3 separate regions of the Homo sapiens genome follow, and all the other regions are linked to region 2. The links are contacts of gene promoters, found by promoter capture Hi-C in blood cells and fetal thymus (Javierre and others, 2016). All regions are on one chromosome and are shown on one strand. The core of a region is centred on a gene start or on the middle of the fragment in contact, and the rest is flanking DNA. Distances in the headings are between cores, read along the strand shown. Region 1 has its middle 16 kb from the start of HPS6. Region 2 holds the start of KCNIP2-AS1 (KCNIP2 antisense RNA 1). Region 3 has its middle 17 kb from the start of NOLC1.

The links. The method cuts DNA at HindIII sites, captures the fragments that hold promoters and counts their contacts. A CHiCAGO score of 5 or more calls a contact.
Region 1: a fragment that was not itself captured here is called in contact with the fragment with the promoter of KCNIP2-AS1 in region 2 in 4 of 17 cell types (endothelial precursors, neutrophils, erythroblasts and 1 more); the score reaches 7.0 in endothelial precursors.
Region 3: a fragment that was not itself captured here is called in contact with the fragment with the promoter of KCNIP2-AS1 in region 2 in 4 of 17 cell types (total B cells, erythroblasts, total CD8 T cells and 1 more); the score reaches 6.3 in total B cells.

The regions. Positions count from the first base shown.
Region 1 is chr10:102,079,125-102,083,566 of GRCh38, forward strand. No RefSeq gene overlaps it. Among named protein-coding and RNA genes, the nearest start is that of HPS6, 16 kb to the left of the region's middle. The HindIII fragment of the contact is 2,290 bases long and covers 2,037-4,326 here.
Region 2 is chr10:101,817,208-101,821,465 of GRCh38, forward strand. It overlaps KCNIP2-AS1 (KCNIP2 antisense RNA 1), which reads left to right and starts at 1,861. Exons shown (of 3, transcript NR_045118.1): 1 at 1,861-2,041. It overlaps OGA (O-GlcNAcase), which reads right to left and starts at 1,237. Exons shown (of 16, transcript NM_012215.5): 1 at 617-1,237. The coding sequence starts at 815. RefSeq lists enhancers at 770-1,345, 1,147-1,266 and silencers at 797-856, 937-996. The HindIII fragment of the contact is 3,022 bases long and covers 1,316-4,258 here.
Region 3 is chr10:102,167,270-102,171,323 of GRCh38, forward strand. No RefSeq gene overlaps it. Among named protein-coding and RNA genes, the nearest start is that of NOLC1, 17 kb to the left of the region's middle. The HindIII fragment of the contact is 1,609 bases long and covers 772-2,380 here.

The DNA.
Region 1 (4,442 bases), core at 1,932-4,431, 260 kb after region 2:
GTGGCTCACACCTGTAATCTCAGCACTTTGGGAGGCAGGAAAATCACTTGAACCAGGGAGGCAGAGGTTGCAGTGAACCGAGATCACGCCACTGCACTCCAGCCTGGGCGACAGAGCAAGACTCCATCTCCACACACACACACACACACACACAAATATATATATATTAGGACTAGATGTCTGGCTTGCCTCACTTGCCTTGTCAAGGCAGAACCAACCCCTCCAAATTCTGACATGAATGCCCTTACTCTTCCAAATCCTGACCAATGTCCTCGCATTGTTCTGTAGAGAATAGTGGTCTGGATGTTTGCCAGTGCTGACCGTTCCTTGTCATCAACATTTGTGGGCCTGTCTCTTTTTTTTTTTTTTTTTAAATAGAGATAGGGTTTCACCATGTTGCCCAGGCTGGTCTCCAACTCCTGGGCTCAAGCAGTCCTCCACTGGGATTACAGGTGTGAGCCACCACACCCAGCCCTATCTCAATTTAAAGGCTCCTGAGGACCAGGCTGCGAATCAAGGTCTTCCTTGTCATACAAGGGCTTCTTAAAGTAGGAGCAGATTTCACCTCTAAGACTAGAGGACTCTCCAAGAGTGGGGTTAGGTCTCTCCCATCAAACTGGAGGCTCCTTGTTACAAACCAAGTTGTGACTCCCAAAAGGCATCCACCTAGAACCTCAGAATGTGACTTTATTTGGAAAAAGGGTATTTGCAGATGTAATTAAAGTGAGGATCTCAAGAGAAGATCATTCTAGATTAAGAAGAGCCCTAAATCCAATAATGAGTATTTCTTTTCTTTTTTTTTTAATTTCTTCTTTTTGGAGATGGAGTCTTGCTCTGTTGCCCAGGCTGGAGTAGTGCAGTGGCACGATCTCAGCTCACTGCAACCTCCGCCTCCCAGGGTCAAGCAATTCTCCTGCTTCAGTCTCCTGAGTAGGTGGAATTACAGGCGCCGGCCACCACATCCAGCTAATTTTTTTTTTTTTTTGGCAGTGTCTCACCCTGTCACCAGGCTGGAGTGCACTGGCGCAATCTCGGCTCACTGCAACCTCCGCCTCCTGGGTTCAAGAGATTCTCCTGCCTCAGCCTCCTGAGTAGCTGGAATGCTGGAATGATAGGCACGCACTACCACACCCAGCTAATTTTTGTATTTTTAGTAGAGATGGGGTTTCACAATGTTGGCCAGGATGGTCTTGATCTCCTGACCTGGTGATCTGCCCTCCTGGGCCTCCCAAAGTGCTGGGATTACAGGTGTGAGCCACTGTGCCCAGCCTAGTTTTTGTATTTTTAGTAGAGATGGGGTTTCACCTTGTTGGCCAGGCTGGTCTTGAACTCCTAAACTCAAGTGATCTGCCTACCTCAGCCTCCCAAACTGCTGGGATTACAGGTGTGAGCCACTGTGCCCAGCCCCAATAATGAATATTTCTAATAAGACAGAAAAGAAGAAAACACAAAGACACAGAAGGAGAAAGCCATGTGAAGGCAGAGGCAGAGACAGAGACTGGAGCGATGGGTCTACAAGCCAAAAACACCAAGAATTGCTGACAGCCACCAGAAGCTGGGAAAGTGGCATGAGGCAGATTCTCTCCTGGAGCCTCCCGAACAAACCTGCACTACTGACACCTTGGTTTGGGACTTCTGGCCTCCAGAACTGTGAGAAAATTTCTGTTGCTATAAACCAAGTGTGTGGTAATTTGTTATAGCAGCCCAAATAAATGCATCTACTGTACAAGAGTGAGGTCTCCCTCATAACTGCAGCTCCCTAAGGAGGGATGGATATTATATCTTGGGTAAAGGCTGTCTTTTGTGGGTCAGACTCAGGATGCCAGGGAAAGGCTGAGAGTCTCAGGAGAGGCTTCACCAGGCTCAGACTGAGGTTGAGCTTTAGGCTGTGAATTTGCAGTTCCTGGCCGAGCTCCCTTACTTGCCCAGGGTAGCCTGGATGTTGCTGCCCTGTGTCTGAAGCTCTTGGTCCAGCTGGTCCCTCTCCATAGTGAGCTGAAGGGCAAGGTCCCTGATGCTCTGCAGAACCTTTTCAAAGCTTTGGTTGCTAGGAAAGGAGTCAAGAACAATAAATGGAATATAGATCCTGGCATTGACAGTGGAAAGATGACTTGGCTTTGACCCCAGCCCAAGGAGGCACTGCTCTGCCAGGCCAAGCTGGAGCCACAATCCTGGAGACTCTTTGGATAACTTCCATCCTCCCCACTAACACACTGAAGAGCATTTCATACCTCAAAGCACCTCCCTGTCAGTCACTTCATCTGATCCTCCTATCCCTGAAGCCCACAGGGCAGGGGTTATGATGCTCAGATTACAGATGAGAAAACTAAGCTACAAACAGCACACTGGCTCCTTGGCTAGCAGATGAGAGAGCTGGGACTAGAAAGAAGATGGGTCTGCAGGCTTAAGGCCAGAACCTTTCCCCATGGACTCCTCTCAGCTGCAGAGTAGGACCCCAGCCATGGCTGGACTGCCATAGCTGCAAAATTTTTTTTTTGTTTTTTTTGAGACAGAGTTTCACTCTTGTTGCCCAGGCTGGAGTGCAATGGCACGATCTCGGCTCACTGCAACCTCCGCTTCCTGGTTCAAGCAAGACTCCTGCCTCAGCCTCCTGAGTAGCTGGGATTACAGGCATGTGCCACCACGCCCAGCTAATTTTGTATTTTCAGTAGAGACGGGGTTTCTCCATATTGGTCAGGCTGGTCTCGAACTCCTGACCTTAGGTGATCCACCCGCCTTGGCCTCCCAAAGTGCTGGGATTATAGGCATGAGCCACTGTGCCCAGCCTAGCTGCATAATTTTAACTTTGGACTTGGGGAAAGCAGATGTGTGACCAAAGGACCGAGAGCTTTACAAGTTAGAAAGCAAAGGAGGTGTATGTAAAATTATATCCTTCCATTTTATGACTGTCTTTGCTTCTTGAAGGAAGCTCAGCTGCCCACTCAGGCCTGGGGCATTTCTGCATGCTGCTGACCTGTTTGGATTGCATTCTGAACTGTTAGTAGTGTACCTAGAGGCTCACTGGATAAGAATTCATGAGAATTTAATCCCTCCTTCACCACCTATTGGCTGTGTAACCTTAGGTAATTTTCTTAACCTCTCTGTATAACCACATCAGACCAATCTCGTCCAACTTAATTAATTAATTAATTTTTATTTTTATTTATTTATTTATTTTTTGAGATGGAGTCTTGCTGTCGCCCAGGCTGGAGTGCAGTGGCATGATCTCCACTCGCTGCAACCTCTGCCTCCCAGGTTCATGCCATTCTCCTGCCTCAGCCTCCCAAGTAGCTGGGACTACAGGTGCCCGCCACCACGCCCAGCTAATTTTTTGTATTTTTTAGTAGAGATGGGGTTTCACCATATTAGCCAGGATGGTCTCGATCTCCTGACCTCATGATCCACCCGCCTCGGCCTCCCAAAGTGCTGGGATTACAAGCATGAGCCACTGCGCCTGGCCAACTTTATTTTTTATGAGACAGGATCTCACTTGTCGCCCAGGCTGGAGTGCAGTGGCTCGATCACTGCTCACTGCAGCCTCGACTTTCTCATCTCAGGCGATCCTCCTGCCTCAGCCCCCCAAGTAGCTGGGACTACAGATGCACACCACCATACCTGGCCAGTTTTTGTAGAGACAGGGTTTCGCCATGTTGCCCAGGCTAGTCTGGAACTCCTGGGCTCAAGCAATCCATTTGCCTTGGCCTCCCAAAGTTCTGAGATTACAGGCGGGAGCCACCACTCCCACTGCACCTAGCCTGGTCCAACTTTTATGTAACAAAGTTGCGAGTTGTTTTTCAGTTGCCACGGACCCCAGGTTGAAGATCATGTAAACTGAGCATGACCAGATGATCCAAGCATGCAGCCAATGATGGAACCTAAGTGCTCAGATCAAGGAGCAGGGACTGAATTAAGAGGTGGACACCATGGCGGGATCCAAGATTCAGTAAGATGGAGCCCTGGCATCACCCCATGGCAGGATCCAGTCAGATCCTGCCTCCTGGCATCTCCTCATCAAAAGATCCAATCAGTTCTCACCTTCTTATCCTATGTTTATAAAACCTGACCCATCCCCCAGCTCAGGGAGACAGATTTGAGAGTTTCCTCCTGTCTCCTTTCCAGTTGACTTGCAATTAACTTTTCTCACTGCAAAAACTTGATGCTTTGGTGTTTGGCTTTCCATTGCACGTGGGCAAATGAACCCAGTTTGGTTCAGTGACACCTGAGCTTCAATTTCCTCAGCCACAAAAAATGAAAGATAAGAATAGTATTTTACAGGACAGTCTTAAGGATTAAAAGAGAGAATAAATGTGGAGAAAATTATTTGTAAGCTTATAAGTTCTTTACATATCAGTTGGAGACACTAATAGGATTTTTAGGGGTTGCTAAAATCAGTCTCTTTATTTTTATTTTAGTTAGTTATTTTAGAGACAGGGTCTTGCTCT
Region 2 (4,258 bases), core at 611-3,110:
GCATCTCAGATACTTCGAGAATCTGTGATTAAAGCCAAAGTTTCATCCCTCGAGAGCAAAGTACAGTAGCTGGGAAAGAGGGCAATTTTCTAAGTTGCAAATGAATCTTTGCGGGGGTGGGGGGAAGCAACAAAAATATTCTAAGCCAAGTGGAACTTGAAATACTATAGGCCAAACGTGCTTCTCTTCACTCCAGAAGTACAAGCACGTCAGTGTGGGCCGATTTTCCACAAAGGGTGGTGACAGAAGCACTACACATATTTTTTCACTGGAACCAGACAACCCTAGGGAATAAGATCCCAAGGTACAAAGAAGTAGAACTCAGAGGCTAACAGAACACCAGGCTCTTAACCACCGCCTCCTTAGGAGGTGGCCTGGCTCCAAGCCCAAGACGGGTGGGGTCAGACTTGTGAGTGGCCAGGGGGGAATTCGACGCCGTCTTAAGACGTGCAAGGAGATTCGCCCAACATCTCGTCTCTCCCCTCGCTTTAGGAGGGCCACATTTCAGACCCAGAGGCTTTCCGGCCTTTTAGAGTCTCCAAAATCCCCGCCACCACCCTCCTCCCGAGGACAGAACGTGTTAGTGCCAAAACGGGGAGGGAAGGAGGGCGCTCACCTTCCACCACACCGCAGAGGAACCGCCGAGCCCCTCCTGCAGCCCCGGCCACCGCCGCTCCCCCAGCCCCGGCGGGGTTGTCTTCTCCGGGTGCCGGAGCTGCCGGCGGCTCCAGCGATGCCCCCGCAGAGGCGGCAGGGTTGGAGCTGAGCTCGCTCTCCCGCTCCTCCAACGTCGCTTGACTCTCCTTCTGCACCATCCTCCTGCCCCCGGCCGCTGCCACCTCTGCGGGTCCTCCTCGACCTCTGTCCGTTGGGGCACCGGCCCGGAGCCCTGGAGAGGGCTTCAGCTCCAAGTGTGCGCCCCTCCGGCTCCTTCCCCTCCCCCTCTGCCCTTCCCCCTCCCTCTCCGCAGGGACCCGAATGCCCGGATGAGAAGGGCGGCGGCACCGGCGCGAGCCCTTTGTCAGCCGCAGCCTCGGCTTTAAGCTGGGGCGCCAGAAGCCTAAGCGGAGAGCGAGGCTGTGACCTCTCGTTCCCTGGAAGAAGACGGCCAAGGGTCCTGTCCTCGTTCTCTGCCTCTGCTGCCCTCCCGATAATCTTAGGTCTTCCGCTGTTTCCCCTCCAAGCCCCGAGCTCTCCCTCTGCTGCTGCCTCCACCGCCCGCTTCCTGTTTATCCGCACTGCGCTTGCGCTGCAGACCGGCTCAGACCGGTCCCCTCCGCCCGGCTCCCCCGCCTTCTTTGGGGCTAGCCTATTAAGCTTCTTTAGGTAGGGGGAAATAGAACAGGAGACGCGAAAAGCAGAAGGTAATGAAGGCAGTGGAATGTACCATTTCTGCTTGCCACCCTCCGAAACAAGCCTGGCACCCTGGGACGGACGGACCATTACCCGCCCCGAAGGAGGGGAGTATGGGAGGAGGCTGCCGCCGGTTGGGGCAATAGGGAGAAGGGGGGAAGGTGAAAAGGAGAGGTGTTTATTCTCTCAGTGCGCAGGCGCGGAGCCGCGGCCTCTCGTTCTTAAAGAGATAGGAAAGAACTGACCTACTTTCTATGGAGATTCTTGTAATAGGTGGGCTCATTACATCTGCCTAACCCAGGCTTGGTTCGGTAAAGACACCATTCCAAGGAGCTCAGCTCACCCCTCTGCCTTGAATCATTTTCCCCTAATCCCATTTAAAATGTAATCATTCGTTCATTCCTTCATTCAGTAGACATCTATAGAGCTTGCCTCGTGCTGGGCTCTAGAACACTATGAGCTCACAGTACGGTGGTGGAGACAAGCCACCACACACGCAGTTCCCACAAGGTGTCCCCAAGAACTTCGGAGCTCAGAACAGGTGATACTCACTCCTCCTTTGGGGAGAGGCCGTGGGCATGGCTTCACTTTTCAGCTGGATTATAAAGGATGTGAAGTTAGCCTGACTGAGCAGAAGGGGAGGGAAGACAGCACTCCAGGAAAGTGGAACGAACAACAGAGTCCAAAGGTAGGGAGGCATGAAAAGCCTGCCTTGTTTGGGAATGGGGAGCGCGCGGTGTGTGCAGTGGGGCATGAGATCCCTTCGGCCTCGGCATGGGCATCGCTTCCTTGGGAAGCCTTCCCTGAGCCCTAGATGGGTTTGGGTCTCCTTGCTGTATGTTCTCAGAGCTCTCTTGTAGACCTACCCTAATGCACTTTACATTTATGATGCTTGAGAAATCTATCTCAACCTGTGAGGTATAAACATGAAATGATGATTAAGACTTAGTAATGTCCATCTTACACTTCAGTCTGATATTTACCTTCTTTAGCCGTAGCCCAACTTGTAGTTTCAGGGACTTTCATGGTCCCTCTTCTTTTCAGTCCTGGATTGTTGAGATGGGGGTTAGGAGCAAACTTTTTTTTTTTTTTTGAGACAGAGTTTCACTCTGTCGCCCAGGCTGGAGCGCAGGAGCGCAGTGGCGCAATCTCGGCTCACTGCAGCCTTCACCTCCTGGGCTCAGGCTATTCTCCTGCCTCAACCTCTCGAGTAGCTGAGACTACAGGCACCCGCCACCACACCCGGCTAATTTTGTGTTTTTAATAGAGACGGGGTTTCGCCACGTTGACTAGGCTAGTCTTGAACTCCTGACCTCAGGTGATCCACCTGCCTCGGCCTCCCAAAGTGCTGGGATTACAGGTGTGAGCCACCGCGCCCGGCCGGACAAGCATTTTCTTAAGGGACCTCCTGTGCTGAGAGTTAGGGGCCATAGCAGCTTTACTGGATATTGTGGTCCGTTGGGGTTGAGAACACAATTTTTTTTTTTTTTTTTTTTTTGTAAGAGAAGAGGTCTCATTTTGCCACGCAGGCTAGTGCAATCATAGCTTAAGTATCGAATTCCTGGGCTCTCAAGGGATCTTCCCGCCTTAGCCATCCCGAGTAGCTGGGACTATAGGCGAGTGCCCGCCACCACACTCTTTTAATTTGTTCATTTTTGGTAGAGACGGGGGTCTCAACATCTTGCCCAAGCTGGTCTCAAACTCTTGGGCTCAGGTGATCCTCCAGTCTCAGCCTCCCAAAGTGCTGGGATTACAGACACGTGCCACCTCACCTGGCCGAAAAGAACTTTTATCTGAGGAATGAGAGTCCTTTTAAATTATCAGGCCCAGATGGCTGGGCGCAGTGTTGGTGTTTGCAACCAGCCTGGGCAATATTGCCAGACCCAGTCTTTATAAAAAAATAAAAATAGGCCGGGCGTGGTGGCTCACACCTGTAATCCCAGCACTTTGGGAGGCCGAGGCAGATGGATCACCTGAGGTCGGGAGTTCGAGACCAGCCTGACCAACATGGAGAAACCCCGTTTCTACTAAAAATACAAAATTAGCTGGGCATGGTGGCAGATGCCTGTAATCCCAGCTACTCGGGAGGCTGAGGCAGGAGAATCACTTGAACCCGGGTTGCGTGAGCCGAGATCGTGCCATTGCACTCCAACCTGGGCAACAAAAGCTAAACTCCATCTCAAAAAAAAAACAAAAAAAAAAAAAAAAAAAAAAAGCCAGGCGTAGTGGTGTGCACCTGTAGTGCTAGGATCTCACCACTGCACTCCAGCCTGAGCCACAGAACAAGACCCTGCCTCTAAAAAAAAAAAAATTAAAAAATAAATAAATCTTTAAAAATTAAAAATAAATAAATAGGCCCAGCGAGGCATTAAAATGACAGAATCAGCCGGGCTCAGTGGCTCACGCCTGTAATCCCAGCACTTTGAGAGGCCAAGGCGGGCAGAAAGTCAGGAGTTCAAGAATAGCCTGGCCATCATGTTGAAACTCCGTCTCTACTAAAACTACAAACAATAGCTGGGCATGGTGGTGCGCGCCTGTAATCCCAGCTATTTGGGAGGCTGAGGCAGGAGAATCACTTGAACCTGGGAGGCAGAGGTTGCAGTGAGCCAAGATCGTGCCACTGCCCTCCAGCCAGGGCAACAGAGTGAGACTCAGTCTCAAAAAAAAAAAAAAAGAAAAGAAAATGACAGAATCACATCCTATGCCTCCCTCCTTTGAGCTATGTATTCATCTCTTGACACTGCTTGCTCTTGCCACAAGTAGCTATAAATTAACCTAATAATGTTGTACTGGACATTCTAACACACACCCTATAGTTTAACAATGTATAGCCAATCAATAGCTTATGTTATTTTAATGTAAACTGTTGGTAAATAACTCAGGAACTGCCTCTTCTTTCCCTATA
Region 3 (4,054 bases), core at 326-2,825, 350 kb after region 2:
CGTTTTGCAGCTAGTGTGTTACACAAATGAGGCGGTTTAGCAAATTGCCTAACAGTATTCATTAGGAAGGTTAACCTGAGTCTGCGTTTGTTTGTTTGTTTGTTTGTTTTTGAGACAGGGTCTTGCTCTGTTGCACAGGCTGGAGTGCAGTGGTGCGATTACGATCACCGCTCACTGCAGCCTCAGCCTCTGGGGCTCAAGCAGATACTCTGATCTCAGCCCCCTGAGTAGCTGAGATCCTCCCACCTCAGCCTCCTGAGTAGCTGGGACTACAGTAGTCACTAGGCTTGGCTAGTTGTTTTTTTGTTTGTTTTGTTTTTGTTTTTGTTTTTAATTTTGTTTTGTAGAGACAGGGTCTCCCTGTGTTGCCCAGGCTACTCTCAAACAATCCTCCCACCTCAGCCTCCCAAAGTGCTGGGATTACAGGCGTGAGCCACTGTGCCCAGCCCAGAGTGTACCTTCTGATGTAAAATGAGAATACTGGCTGGGCCTGTAATCCCAGCACTTTGGGAGTCCAAGGCGGGTGGATCACGAGGTCAGGAGATCGAGACTATCCTGGCTACTTGCAGTGAGCTGAGATCGCACCACTGCACTCCAGGCTGGGTGACAGAGCAAGGCTCTGTCTCAAAAAAAGAGAGAATACTATCTCAACTCATTTGTAGATTCTTGACTCTCTCAGAGGCTTGTTGTAAGGACTGAGAATTTAAAGCACTTAGTACAGTCCCTGGCATATTATAAGCACTCCATAACTGCCTCTTGCTCAACAAAAAAAGCTTTGGAAATGATGTTCTTTGGTTTCCTTGTGATGTGCAACATGCCATTTTGGCAAAGGCATCAAGCATATGTTAATGATTATTTCCCTGCAATGGTTTTTTGTTGTTTCACGTTTATCATCTTTATTCCTGATACAAAAATGGATATGTGGAATTGGTCCTATTAGAAACTTCTTAGTTTTGTGAAGAATCTGGAATTCCTACCCCTTGCTGATGGGCTCTGGCACTGAAATCCGCAAATTCAGTCAACCAGACACATGGCTCATGCCCCTCTGCATCATGCTTCATGGACACAGGCAGGAGACTTCCTAATGCCCTGTTGGGGGCTTGCCCTTCGCCCGGTGTAGCCTTACTGCAACCCTGTTAGGTGGGTATCGAGTAGATCATTCCATTTGGGGCCAGGTAAGTCTTTGCTTTTGAGGACTGTCCTGTGTGTTGTAGGATGTGTGGCAGCGTCCCTGGCCTCTAACACTGCATGCCAATAGTTTCCCCTAGTTGTGACAACCAAAAACGGCTCCAGGCATTGCCAAATATTTTCTGGGAAGGAAAATTGCCCCTAGTTGAAAACCACTACGGAAACAGCCCTGAGTATCAAATGATTTACTTAGGGTTGATGAAACTGCAACTTAGTGGCACATTGAGACAAGAACACAGGTCTCTGTATGTCCAAACATGGAGCTACCTGTATTCAATAGTCTTTGTGAACCTGCTATGTACTCGTCATAGAACTCCCAGAGAGCTCAGTGTCTAATGGGGAAAGTCAGGCATGGGAATGGTTTCTGTGCACTGAGCTGAGTTCTGTCCCAAACTGAAGGTCAGAGTAGCACCCCTAAGGGTACAAGCAAGAAAATACTTGGCTTGGCCCGGTGTGGTGGCTCACACCTGTAATCCCAGCACTTTGGGAGGCCGAGGCAGGCAGATCACGAGGTCAGGAGTTCGAGACCAGCCTGGTCAACATAGTGAAACCTCGTCTCTACTAAAAATACAAAAAATTAGCCAGGTGTGGTGGCAGGCGCCTGTAATCCCAGCTACTCAGGAAACTGAGACAGGAGAATCGCTTGAAACCGGAAGGCGGAGGTTGCAGTGAGCCAAGATCGTGCCACTGCACTCCAGCCTGGGCAACAAAGTGAAACTCTGTCTCAAAAAAAAAAAAAAAAAAAAAGAAGAAGAAGAAGAAGAAAAGACTTGGCTGATGGTGGCCTAGGATTCTGAAGACAGCTGCAGTTTGCCAGGAGCGAGAAAAGTGCATACCGTGTAAGGAAGAGTGCCTTTTCCAGTGGGAGAAGAGGGCTGTTAGAATGGGTCAAGCAGAGGTGTGCGGGAGGTGGGGGCAAGATACTGCGAAATTTCACTGAGAGTTCAATGTCAATGGCCTTTTGTACCTAAGTTAGGAATTAGTACTTTATTTTGTCCACCTGAGTATGTTAGGAGATTTGATAGTCTAATACAATACTCCTGGCACTAATCCGGTTGCGGTGAAAGCACTATTTCTGCCGGACCACGAAGTTCTCAAATCCCTCCTGCAGAGCCTGTCTGCAGTTACCGATGGGGCCAGTAGGTGGCGATGTTGCCCCCCTGTTTAGGGAGCTGGGCTGGACTTAAATAGAAGCTTAACTCCTTACTTACTCCAGTGCTATTCAACAAACTTGAAGAGCCGGGCGCAGTGGCTCACGCCTGTAATCCCAGCACTTTGGGAGGCGGAGGCGGGCGGATCACGAGGTCAGCCGATCGAGACCAACCTGGTTAACACAGTGAAACCCCGTCTCTACTAAAAATACAAAAAATTAGCGGGGCGCCGTGGCGGGCGCCTATATAGTCCCAGCTACTCGGGAGGCTGAGGCAGGAGAATGGCGTGAGCCCGGGAGGCGGAGCTTGCAGTGAGCCGAGATAGCGCCACTGCACTCCAGCCTGGGCGACAGAGCGAGACTCCGTCTCAAAAAAAAAAAAAAACACCTTGAAGAGCCCACTGTGAGCCTTTGGATACACAGATGAATAAGACACAGGCCCTCATCTGAGGCTCTTTAGTTTTGGAAATTAGAGAAGGGGTTTTTTGTTTGTTTGTTTGTTTGTTTGTTTTGAGACAGAGTCTCGCTCTGTCGCCCAGGCTGGAGTGCTGTGGTGCCATCTCGGCTCACTGCAAGCTCTGCCTCCTGGGTTCACGCCATTCTCCTGCCTCAGCCTCCCGAGTAGCTGGGACTACAGGCGCCCGCTACGGCGCCCAGCTAATTTTTTTGTATTTTTTAGTAGAGACGGGGTTTCACCGTGCTCTCCATCTCCTGACCTCATGATCTGCCCGCCTCGGTCTCCCAAAGTGCTGGGATTACAGGCGTGAGGCACCGCGCCCGGCCGAGAAGGGAGGTTTTCTGGTCTCTGGTCTGTACTGGTTATCCATGAGAGGTTACCTGATACCTGAAAGCCAGTGGCAGGCAACATGGCTTGTAGAAGATTAATGTTCCCCGTGGAACCCCAACCCTACCTCCAGGTCCTGGCAGGGCCTTCGGGCTCCTGCAAGGGTGACCGGCTGCAGATCCCACTGCTGATGGAAATTGCGGGCCTGTGTTCTTCCTAGGTCTGGGAGCTCAGAGGCTTTGATGCCTTCTCCTCTCTCCTCTCTCTTCCCTCCTCTCCCAGCATAATCTCAAGGAGCTCAGGATTGAGGAGAACAAATGCCAGGCTTCCGCCTTGGAAGTGGATACTTCCAAGTGGCAGAGGAAGTACAGAGTATTTCAAGAAATTAGCCTGCCAAACAGAAATTTATCCATTCAGCAAAAATTCATCCATTCAGAAAATATGAGTGGCTGCCATGCGCCAGGTACATGACATGTGATCCTGTGTGGTAGCTGTTGCAGATACAATCCTGAATGAACAAAAAACACAGTTCCAGCAATCAAAGTTTACTCAAAAAAAGTTTTGTTTACTCAAAAAAGACAAAAAGTTTGTCCGACTAGTGAGGGACAAAAATATTAATCCTCACAAATAAATGTGTAAATACAAACTTCAGTGTGTGAAGGCAGGTTGTACAGAGCTATGAGAGCATGTAATAGGGGCAGCTGACCCATGTGGTGGTGGGACTTCCTCATGGATAGCATGACCATGTAACTTTTTTTTTTTTGAGACGGAGTCTGGCTCTGTCGCCCAGTCTGGAGTGCAGTGGCCTGATCTCCGCTCACTGCAAGCTCCGCCTCCCGGGTTCACTTCATTCTCCTGCCTCAGCCTCCCGAGTAGCTGGGAGTACAGGCGCCCGCCACGCTAATTTTTTGTATTTTTCATAGAGACGGGAT